3 separate regions of the Homo sapiens genome follow, and all the other regions are linked to region 1. The links are contacts of gene promoters, found by promoter capture Hi-C in blood cells and fetal thymus (Javierre and others, 2016). All regions are on one chromosome and are shown on one strand. The core of a region is centred on a gene start or on the middle of the fragment in contact, and the rest is flanking DNA. Distances in the headings are between cores, read along the strand shown. Region 1 holds the start of ATP7A (ATPase copper transporting alpha). Region 2 holds the start of LPAR4 (lysophosphatidic acid receptor 4). Region 3 holds the start of RTL3 (retrotransposon Gag like 3).

Region 1 (3,977 bases), core at 537-3,036:
TCTTGCAGCTCATAGTGATAAACTTTAGTATTTACATAAAAATACTAGATAGCTAGTAGATTCAATGTTCTGCTTCTGAAAAAGATATATTTTTGGTTTTGCCTTTTAGTGAATTTCTTTTGGATGCTTAACACAATGTTAATATAGTTACAAACCAACTTGCTAATATTTGGAAACCCACTTAAAAGCTATCTTCATTTCATATGATGTGATTTTTAAGATTTTAAATTTGGGGCTGAGTTTGTATCTTAATAATTAAGGCTGCACACATTGACAACTACAAAATAATGCCTGGGAAGATGAGTCCTGAGGCTAATTTTATATTTATGTGGATGAGTGTGGAGGGGGATAATAATTCTGAAATACTTAATCACAGACCTAAAATGTAGATCTATGGGTAATTTTAAATGTTGCCTGTCAAGGCTTAATAGGGACTTGACAACAGCTAGGATGGAAATTATTTCAACACTTAAATATGCTTACTTTGTGCCGGACGCTGTTCTAAGTCTTTTACAAATATTTACTTGATATTTGTATTTTGTGTACTATTTTGATTTCTGCAACATTATTAGGCTTCATACTCTTCTGTGGGAACTGGGTTCAAATGGTTCCAGATGAAAATACAAATAGTCCTGTGATTAGTTTTGTTCTACATCTTATGACAGATACTTCATGAAAGGAAATATGAAAAGGCCACATCTTGCTTTGAAATAAGTGAGATGGAGCCTCTCCCTCTTTTTACTGTTAATGTTCATAGTTTTAAAAATCCTAGAATTTTGCTGCTTTTCAAAATGTTAAGTTGGAAAGCAAGAATAAAATGACCCTTTTTTCAAATGTTTTCTGTACCATTTATTGCATTGTTTACATTTTATGCATCTCATTTCTAAATGAACTCATGGTAACAGAGACTGTAACACTTTTGCATCACCGGAATCTTCTAGGTGTGTAAAATGATGGACGAGTGAATGAATAAATGGGGGAGTGGTTCAGAGCTTGGAATGGCGCTATGAAGGTGGTGAAGTGACGTCCCTACCCCCTCAACACACATATAAAAATTATGAATTTATAAACATTTTCCTCTTGATGTAATTTTTCAATGGAGGGAAGAGGATAAATTCATAGTTCTGGCACTTACATCTGGAATTAGGCTACACAGTCTACGGGAAGCAAGTTAACACAGTCTAACAGATGCACGTGAATTTCATGCTGGGCGAAGATGAACTATGTGGAAGATGACTTATAAGGAGCTTTTATGTTACATCTTGGCAGTTAACACAGTCTAACTGATGCACGTGAATTTCATGCTGGGCGAAGATGAACTATGTGGAAGATGACTTATAAGGAGCTTTTATGTTACATCTTGGCAGTTAACACAGTCTAACAGATGCACGTGAATTTCATGCTAGGCAAAGATGAACTATGTGGAAGATGACTTATAAGGATCTTTTATGTTACATCTTGGCCTGAGGTTAGGAAACTAAAGATGACAAAGGCACTGTTTTAGTATGGGTTTTCTGGTTTCGCTTTTGTCGTGGGGGCGGGGTGGGATAGTGGACTCGTACCCTAACAAAGACCCACTCGAGGCTGCGTGTCGGCCCGGGGGCAGCAGGGGGCAGGAGAAGCTGGCTCTAGACCACGCGTTCCTTTTCACGTGACCAGTCGCTCTCTTTCCCGTGGCGGCCCTGCTTCCGGCAGGGGCATCACCCGGAAGTGGGGGTAGTCGAGGGAGGGAGGGGTAAAGGCGGCTGGCCGCCGCGGCGGGGGGTGGGAAAAGAGAAGCAGAGGGAGGAGTTGTTGCTGCCGCCGCCGCAGCCGCAGCTACTGTGACTTCTCCGATTGTGTGAGCTTTGTTGGAGCCTGCGTACGTGGATTTATCGCTGCCACGGTCTGCGTAGCTCCAGAGGTTTAACCATAGGATAGAGAAACCAGGTAAGTCCTACATTGGCTTCCCGTCGTCCTTTCTCCTGGAGGGGGTCTTCTGTGCTGTCAGTTTGTACTACGAGTGTGGTGAGAAGGTCATGTTAGTCTGGGGCAGTCTCGAAAGTTTCACTTATTCACAATTCAGGTATTAACTACATTTATGTTTTACCTCCCCTAACAGGGGATAGAGGAGGGGAAATTAAATCCTGACCTGTGTCACTTTCTTGTACCCTCTTGGAGAGAATGTCCTGATCATCCATGGCCTACGTTACCCAATTAATTGAGGGTACAAGAAAGTTTGTGTTTGGCATTGAAAGTCACATGGACTGGGGTCTTTGCTTAGTGACACCTCTTTATACTTTGGAAGCTAAGGTTACTAAAATGACCATAATTGATGAAATAATAATTGAAAAATAGATATTTGGCTTCTTGTCTTGCTCTGGGAGCGTAAGGTAAACTGAGAGAACTCTTGTTTCCACTTAGTTTTGTTCATTGTGCCCCCTTTCCAGTAAAGTTACTGTCCATTGTCCGACCCTGTGGCATCTTATCTTTGACACTTTTCTTCGTTGTAGACGTTGAGATTATCTTAAGCACAAACACTTATCGTTTCACAATTCAGCGTTTGTCCAGGATCTGATCTTTATTTTAATCACAGACTCTTTATCTACAATAGTATGGCTTTGTATTGAGAATATGTGCAGAACATTGAATTAGATGATACTGAGGTTATTAATTTTTTTTTTTTTTTGCCGGGTGCGGGGGGGTGGTGGGGAGGGGGTGATGCACAAGAAATAAGACAGAGTTCCTGGCCTCAAAAGAGTTTACTTACAGTAGGCTGGGCGCAGTGTCTGACACACCTGTAATACCAACACTTTGGGAGGCCGAGGAGGGTGGATCACCTGAGGTCAGGAGATCGAGACCAGCCTGGCCATCATGGCGAAACCCTGTCTTTACTAAAAATACAAAAATTAGCTGGGCGTGGTGGCGGGCGCCTGTAATCCCAGCTAGTCGGGAGACTGAGGCAAGAGGATCGCTTGAACCTGGGAGGCGGATGTTGCAGTGAGCCGAGATCGTGCCACTGCACTCCAGCCTGGGCTACAAGAGCGAAACTGTCTCCAAAAAAGAAGAAAGAAAAATAAACAGTTTACATACAATTGAGTCCGAATTGAGTCAGTTGAATTCAGCTATGAAGACAACGGTTTCTAGCAGCCCCACTGACTGAATTACTAGGTTGCTTATCACATCCTTTTCAATGGTTATTTTTGAACTGGCATTTTATTATATTTAACATTTTCTGGTGTCTAAGGTCATGACATGAGAGAGTTTTTTTTGTACTTGAGGATCTCAATGTAGTAGGAAAGAAAGATACACGATTACCTAAACATTTAAAAAATCTCACTAACGTTATATATTAGAAACAGGAGGTGTTATGAGAGTGCAGGGAAGGGAGCATGTGAACTGGGCTTTGAAAAATAGATAGGATTTAGCTTTGCAGGAATGGAGGAAGAGGAAGACATCTATCTGGACTGATAGATAGAAGAAATAATGTGAGCAAAGCCATGGGGGTCTGGAAAGTTGCCCGACATCCAGTAACACACTGTAAGTCAATATTCCTATTTCTAACAGCCACATCTTCCAAGATGTCACTGATTAAAATTAGAAAAAATATAGAATACAAAACTAGTCAGCTCACAAACATATCCAACTGCCCTCCAGCCAATAAGAAAGCTTATATAGAGAAAAAAATACATGGAAATGACAAAAGCAATGTTAATGTATGAGGCTTAATTCTGATGTAAACTCAAATCTAAAAGAGAAAAAATGTAAAACTCGCTATACTTTAATTCTGATTGAGTGTTGTGCCTTAAATATAATTTGGAATCATTTTTAAAATTGTTGGGAATGAATAACATTTTCTGAAGTGAGCAACTGTTCCAGGTTTTCCCCAAGGAATCTCTGCTTTTCCTTTTTTCCTCTAAATTGATTTCTCTCTATTGATCTTCTTAACTTGATAGGAACTATTCTATTCCGATCACAGCCTTAGAAAGATCTTGATG
Region 2 (3,977 bases), core at 454-2,953, 840 kb after region 1:
ACTGAATCATCCACCAAAATGTGGCACAAATCCCACTTCTTCTAAGAAACCCTCCTGGCCCTATCCATGGGACTTCATCTCCATCCTCTGATCTATTACAGAACTCAATCTCCATATAACTGCCTTGGTATTTTTTTTTTCAAAATTTACCTTTGGTATCCCACTTTTTTCATGTGTCTTTGTGTCCCTACCTAGACTCTGGCATACTGCAGGGTAGAGACTGTATCTTTCGCCTGTGGACTGACAAATGCACCGAGTACTGGTCTAGGATGAGAGTTGGTAAAAGACCATTTATAAAGACACAGACAATGTCAGCAACTGACAGAAATAGACATATTTGAGATAAGCAGAGAGGGGAATAAAAAGAACAGAGATGGGCGGTGGGATGGAGAAGAGGAAGCAACAGAGAAAGTGTTTTTTTAGAGCCAGTTACAAGTAATAAGGCTAGTGTCAGCTTCACACTAACTTGTTTACTGGCCTCCACTGATAGTGAGAAGAGCCACAATAGAGCTGAACAAATAGGGAGAATAAACAAGCTTGAAACATGCCCTACTTGGGAGGCAGCTTAATTACACAAACTGAAGTTCTGAAGCAAATAGAGGATCCTCCAAGACTCCAGGGGCTCTGCTCTGCCAAGAGAAAGAAAGCACCTTATCCCTGGGCAGAGAATTTCATTCCAGAGGAGGGGGAGGGGCTGCTGTTGGTGGCTTTTGCAGTGGGTGGAGATAGAGTAGAGAAGGCTTGCAGGGGTGGGCTGGCAGAGGGGAAGGGCCAACAATGAAGTTACAGATGGATGAGTGGGTTTCTGCCACAAAATCAGATCAAGGAGAGGGAGGTGAAGAGGAAAATATAGGGAGGAAAAAAAAAAAGAATTGTGAGTGACCAAGGCAGTAAACCTGTAGATAATTAGAAAAGAAAATCTTGCCATGGGGGAGGTGGGCGGAGGTATACAGTTGCAGATAACTCTCTATTGTAAATAGATTGCATCTGTGCTATTTATTTTGTATTTTAGCAAATCTCTGAAATTTTCATGGTAATTAGACTTACTGCGAGGCAGTTACTTGAGAAGTGTAGACCCTCCTTTTGCTACAGAACACTCCCTAGTCCTTGGAAGGTGGGTGTCAGAGCTCTGGGACCCTAGTACATCTCTATCTGAGGGCACTTATCTGGCTTAAGTGAGTGTAGTATTAAAATTTACTTTATATTTTTGTGATGGTGGGAGATTGAATTTTGCACAGTGTGATAGGAATATTTTTATGGTACCTTTCATTTTTGCCTTTTCCTTGCCCCCTACTTATTATTATCAATATTGTTGTAATTATTTTAAACAAGTAGGAGCGAACATGGTATGCATAATTGAAACACTCCTCCTTGTTTGAAATGTTGTCTCCTCCTCTGCAGTCCTGCGGCAAAGACAGGCACACAGGCTTTCTCTGTGGATTAATTGGTCAGGAAAGACACTTTTTATATTGTCAAGTGGCACTTAAGCCATTAATTCTTGACTGTGAAACTGCTTTTCCTGGGCAATGCTCTTTAAGGAAAAACTTATTCAGTCCAGTGACTGGTGACTAAGGGAACGATGGAGCACAGGGAATTGGGCGGGATCTAGACTCCTAATAATGCCTCCTTAGCCAATGAAAAGCATTTCCTATTGAGACCCCCAAGAGTTCCCCTGGCCGTCGGCTCCAGCTCGGACTTCAGGCCTTTTTGTGTCCTGTTTGCTAAAGGCATGCGGGCTACAGCATTCAAGAGAGGGAGTCGTTAACAAAGGGAAAGAGATAAATGTAAATAAGCTCACATTTACAGAATGAGCGGTTTGCAGTAAAAAGCTGCGGCAGCCCAGAGTCTGCTACTTTAGGCTGGGCTAACCTTTCCCTGTAAAAAAAAAAAAAAAAAAAAAAAAAAAAAAATGGATAAAAATATGCACTTCCAAAGGGCGAGTTGCCCATTTACATGTTTATTAGCTAATTATCTACAGGCATCAGCACATTCTCTCATCTAGCACACTCTTTCTTGGGGTAAGTTTCTCTTTTAAAAAGATTTGATTTTGGCGTTTGGGGGTGGGGGATAGCATAACAAACTACAGTGGAAACACTGATGCTTTGAGAGTGTAAGGAAAGAAGTTAGACTTCAACTCTGAAGTACTGAACAAGGATCTTCGTGATGAATGGTAAAAAACGAGAATTTCCATTGTTTTGGCAATAATATTGTTTCCGTGGAAGACATACAGGATTTTCAGGCTGCTGTTTCATGTAAACACAGTTGTTCTAAAGAGCTAATTTAAAATCACAGTGTAGAACAATTTAGAAAGTATGTCGACTAGCTTTGTATTTCTTTGGTTTACAGTTTATTGTGCGCTAACGTGGCTTGTATTATGATGAGGTTTCTTCTAGTAAAACTATACATGACATGTCTTTGATGCTTAATTGATTTATGGAGAATGTGACATTTGCTATATTGAATAATTCATGAACTTGCCCATAAAGGAAGAATCATGTTTGAATGAAAAACTCTGTCATAAACTGAATTTGCAATTATATGTGAAATTAATTGCTGTTTGCCATACAAATGCATCAATGTGTCATCTTTAAACTCTCTTCTTGTAAATTTTAAATATTTTCAGTAAAAAGGTCTTATTGAGTTGCTAAATACAGTATTTCAGTTACCTTTTAAAAGGAAATTCAGCAATGTAATTTATCATTATTTCAGTGTGGAAAAGACCAGACAAATTCAAAGGTTAGAATATTTCAGAGCTTGGTGGGGTTATTCACTTTGCTACCTTACAAAATTATACCATCTTTCTTTATCTTGACTAACATAAAGACAATAATAATAACCTGAGATCCAGATTACCCAATGGCTTTGCAACACGTTTATTTTTCAGAACAAAATTCCCAACATCATATCCCATCAACATAGATTATAAAACCTTTTGCCTTGTCACAGATGAAAAGTTGCACTCTTGCCAAGAAGGATGAGTTCACCTGATAAACTTGATGGCATCTACATTCTAAAGTCTCTCCTGCCAATCAGAGATGGGAATGAAAGCCTTATTGGAACAATCAGGCCAGTCTTTCAGAATGTGTGCTCTCTGCAAGTTAAAGGGAGAACCAGGAAGATGCCTCACAGAAACATTCAGGCCAAGCTTAGCTAAAGCTTGATCTATTCAATTGCCTTTTGGGAAAATGCAGTGAGAATTGTTGCCCTTGCTGTGGTTTGTTCAGCGCCTAATTGTGTAGCTACCTTTTGTCTGTGTATATGGTCATCACATATAGTCTGCCCTTGGCCTTCTTGTTGGGGGAAGAACAAAACCTGTAATGTGTTTGCGAATATTAGTACTGAAAATTGGGAGCCCAATAAAAGGTTACCTACCACTGGGAATCCACCTTTACTTTAAGCGGATAAATAATCAGTTATCAGAACAATGTAACGGGTAAATGATCTAATGATTCTACATGGTTATGTCCTGAAATATGCCGATAACCTCATATTCTGAGGGGTGAAGTGACCAGGAAACAGGTGGGAAGGGTTGAGGGTTGAGACCTAAACAATTAGAGGTGATATGCCTGCTGAAATGAGCACAAGGACAGAGGATGAGGAAAATAAGGGAATTTGGAAGACTTTAGGATATTAGTGGCATCTTTCTCTGTGATTCTTAGCTTCCGGTATTAATTAATACTATTTATTTCTAATATTCAAATAAATCTAGCAATCATTTCATTAAGTCTAATAAAAATTAATGACCCTCCTTGCTTGCAGACTTTGAGGAAATAAAAAATGTTTTACAGTGGCCAATGTAAGCAGGTGAAAATAAATGATGGAAAAGAACAGCCAGTAAGGCCACCAGCATGGCACTCATTGAAGGTTGCTTTTCTGTCAGTCAAGACTGAAGATTAAAGGAGAAGAGAAACTGAGACTCAGAAATGGACTGTGACTTGCTCTCACAGAGCTCGTGATGGGGCTGGATGTGTCTATAT
Region 3 (3,977 bases), core at 495-2,994, 750 kb after region 1:
AACAAAGCTCACCAGGGCTGCTTCAGTGGGATACAGGTGCCCTCTGACTCTCATGTAACTATACAGCTGAACCAGGAACTCAGGAAGCTTCTGGGAATCTCCACTGAAGGTTAAAGTGTATTGCAGGGGGAAATCTGTAGCCTCTAACCCAATAGGGGCCTGTGGAAACTCTGAAGCTGCTGATGTCTCCACAACTATTAGACCCTCCAGGGACTCCTGGGCTGCTGAGAGTTCTAGGAATTCCTGGGCATTTGAAGGCTCCAGAGGCTCCTGGGGAGGTGGAAGCTCAAGGAACTCTAGCTGTGCTGCAGTTTCCTGGTATTCTGGTGCCTCCTGGGGCTTCTCAATATTTGGGGGATCCTGGGGTTCTGAATTCTTGGGCTCTTGGGCTATTGTGGCATCCTGGGTGTTTGCAGGCCCCTGGCCCTCCAAGACTGTTGGGATCTCATGGGCCATTGGAGGTTTCTGGGACTCCCGGGTTGCTGGAGGCGCCAGGGACTCTGGGGCTGCTGGGGCCTCCTGGAGTTCCCAGGCTGCTGGGGGTTCCCAGGGTAGAAGATCCTGTGGCTCTGGTGGCTTCTGGGGTTCCTTGAACTCTGGGGTCTTTTGGGCCTCCCAGGCTGCTGGGGGATTCATGTGCTCTGGGAGCTTCTGGGGCTCCTTGGCCTCTGAGGACTTTCGGAGTAGATCATACTCCTTGGCTGCTTGGGACTTCTGAAGCTCTGGGATCTGGGCCTGGAGAGCAGCATTTTCTTCCATCAGCCACTGCACTTGAGCCTGCCGAATTTCATTCTCCAATTTCAGAACAATATAGGAGGCTGCTAAGTCCTCCACCATCTTTTGAGGAAATGGGTATGATTTGACAATTTGCTACCAAGAGAGATTGGGTGGGTGTTTGTGAGATCCTTCCTGAAAGCTGCTTACAGGCAGATGTCAGGCTCAGTGAGTTTTCCAAGGGGTGGTATTTGGGCCCCGCCAAGGCTGATTATCAAGAGGTCACTGGGAGCCTCCGGAGCTCGGCAAGAAGGAGCCTCCGGAGCTCAGTAAGGGGAAGTGTCAGATACACTGCGAAGAGAGTGGGAGCTGAGGATCAGAAACTGTGGAAAGCACACATTCAACATAAAACAAAATCTGCCCAACAATGCTGGGTTTCTTTTACCATAGGCTTATGTTCATGAGCTGGGGTATATATGCTGGATCTGACTCCACGACATTTTAAGAACAGCATCTGTCCCAAACTGCACATGTCATTTTGCATTTATCCTTTGAAACTTAACATTATATCAAAAGCAACTTTTTAATATTATTTTCTGTTTTATATAGTCTTTAATCTTGAATATCTGCCTAATATCCCAATGTAACATTTGGATTTTAACAGCTGCTTTCAGTGACTAAATCAAATGTTTGAGCAATGTGGGAATTTTAGGCTCTGCGGTGGGCCAGCCCAAGAGATATTTTTGGGTGACTAGGGTGGTAGGAAGTAGGAGGGAGCTCTTTCTGACACCTCAGAAATCATACCACATAAGTAACCACACAAGACCAGCCTCAGGAGAAAACAAGCAAAAGTCGACTAAATATATATATATATATATATATATGCCCTCAGAAGACACATGCATATTATTTATAAAATACCTCAAAATAGTTAAGAAAATAATCTTTATAAATGTACGTTACCATTCAGAGACTTAGTCCAGGAGCTTGGCTGTCTGTGTACCCATTGCTGAGGAGGGAAATGTGTAAATGGCTGTGGAGGCTTGCCTTTTCTGCACACACTGAACTCAAGCAAACACACCCACTCCCAGAACACATTCCAACTTTCCTCTGTAACATAGCTTTTTAAAGTGTGGAAGAGTTTTTTGACAGTACCTCACAGTTCAGAGCTGCAAGGAAAGTAGGATGCTGTGCTGATGTGAAGCAGCTTCATGTACTCAGTCCTTGGTTACTTTAATGAATATTTGGCCAGGAAATTGTGAGTAATACCACTGCCCTTGTGAAAAGTTGCAAACATTTTTGAATGACCACAGTGGTTTGGGATGTGATTTTTTATGTCTGTCTCATCTAACCTATTCTTACTCTGTCCAAATTGGGCCATTTGTTTACTTCTCACTCAGGGAACAGCCTGCAAACCCTCAGCCCCTTCCCTTGCTTACTACCTATTCAGTCCCTAGGGTTTTTCCTTGCAATGTTTTCTTGGAAAATTTGCCACAGACAGATCTAGAAAAGGTATAAAAGGGTACAAATGTCAGGGAGACCAATTGTGTTGGTGGGTACTTATAGCAGTCTTACAGAGTCCCTGGCTCTTTCTGAATGTCCTGGACCAAAGATCTCATGCTTCCCTGAACTGATCAGGTGCTCCAGGTAGCACTCAGGACATTCACTAAAGACTGGCCTCTTGGGAAGTAACCCTGCTCAGAATCTCACTTTCTCTTCTCATGCCAGATCACAGTTATGCCTTGGGTATGGGCTATGTGGCCATTTTAGGCAAGGCTTAGGGGCAACTATTTTTATCCAAGTAAGGAGTGGGGTTGAGGTTTGCATTTGGCCATTTCAAATCACACATCATGTCAACCACAGTCCCATGTCTCCTTCACAAATGGTCAGTTCTGCATTAGTCAGCATAATGGGATAAACCCTAGTGATGGAATAGGCCCAAAACATAGCAAATTGACAGACTGGGCTACCTGAATCCGAATGCAGAAGCTTTGAAAGTAAAAACAAAATCTTTTGCAAATCGAGTTTATTCTTTCCTTACCTTTCAAAGTTTTATTTTTCTAGAAACACCACACATATAAAAATACCACCATCATCAGGGATGATGTGATCTATTTATGTGAAGTTTTCAGATAACTGAAGCCTTCCTGCCCTCCAAGAAGCCAAAACACACAGTTAACATTTATTTTATCCAGAAAGAAAAGAGAACTTCCAACACCTGAATTTGTAACGGGCTTAGTTAGGGAACAACTATTAATTGAAACTCTTTCCTAATGTTTAGCAATTTCTGTAACAATGAGTTTGAAGGTTCAATACTGGACATCAAGTTGAAATTTAATAAAGAGTATTTCAATTTAAAAAAATCAGAGAAATATTTATAGCATATGTTATACCTCTTTGTCCATTCTTAAGAAATGATTTTGCATATAATTTAATCCAGTTTTAATGGTTTGGATTCATACTTACACAAACCAGCTAGTTTACCCTGTTGTAACACAGTGTTGCCCTCTGAAAGCTACTGAGAGGTATAAAGTGGTCTGTCTTCAAATTAAAAACTTCCAAATTGCTATGTTTTGCGACTTCTTGTATTTTCTTTTCCTTTATATTTTTATACTCTTTTGCAATCAAGTTGTAACATAGCCCTTCATGTTATACCTATATGCCTGTCTATACTTACCCTATACAAATTTGGCAAATTACTTCATCCTTCTGATAGTTAGAATCTAAACTTTAGTTTATGAAACTGTAAAATGAAGTTATTAATATTATTTGACTTTATAGGGTTGTCAAAAATTCAGTGAAATAATGTGTGAAAAAAGGATTAGCACAGTGTCTGGCAGCTAATAACACCCAATAAAGGTTAATAATAATAATAATAATAATAATAATAAGCTGTAGCAGCAGTAATCTCATTTTAATTTATTCTTTTTAATCACCTGTGAATTGGGAAACTGAATAGGTAAACATGCTAGAGTTGTGTAGAGGCTGAGAAAGGGGTCTCATACCGAGAAATCTACAGTGCATCGATTTTACAGCATTGGTTTTTCACCACTTGGGAACTTTTATCTATTCTTCCTTGCTGGGATATAGATGGTTTAGTTTCCAGATAGTACTCTAGAATCAGGACTGGAGGCACCTGAGCAGGAAGATTAGAAGATTAAAACTGGAATTGTGAAGCAGCCAAGATAGATGTTTAAAAAGTTCATGGACTAAAGCACTGAAAAGTGTCTTGCCTACAGGAATATTTATTCAGTGTATAAACA

Evidence for each region. The method cuts DNA at HindIII sites, captures the fragments that hold promoters and counts their contacts. A CHiCAGO score of 5 or more calls a contact.
Region 2: the fragment with the promoter of LPAR4 here is called in contact with the fragment with the promoter of ATP7A in region 1 in 2 of 17 cell types (naive B cells and megakaryocytes); the score reaches 10.6 in naive B cells.
Region 3: the fragment with the promoter of RTL3 here is called in contact with the fragment with the promoter of ATP7A in region 1 in 3 of 17 cell types (neutrophils, activated CD4 T cells and erythroblasts); the score reaches 8.9 in neutrophils.

What each region holds. Positions count from the first base shown.
Region 1 is chrX:77,908,907-77,912,883 of GRCh38, forward strand. ATP7A (ATPase copper transporting alpha) reads left to right here and starts at 1,787. Exons shown (of 23, transcript NM_000052.7): 1 at 1,787-1,929. The HindIII fragment of the contact is 7,135 bases long and covers 1-3,646 here.
Region 2 is chrX:78,746,017-78,749,993 of GRCh38, forward strand. LPAR4 (lysophosphatidic acid receptor 4) reads left to right here and starts at 1,704. Exons shown (of 5, transcript NM_001278000.3): 1 at 1,704-2,018. The HindIII fragment of the contact is 2,609 bases long and covers 535-3,143 here.
Region 3 is chrX:78,657,584-78,661,560 of GRCh38, forward strand. RTL3 (retrotransposon Gag like 3) reads right to left here and starts at 1,745. Exons shown (of 2, transcript NM_152694.3): 1 at 1,678-1,745; 2 at 1-1,065. The coding sequence starts at 837. All of the region lies in intron 1 of LOC107985670 (a long non-coding RNA gene), which reads left to right. The HindIII fragment of the contact is 2,616 bases long and covers 86-2,701 here.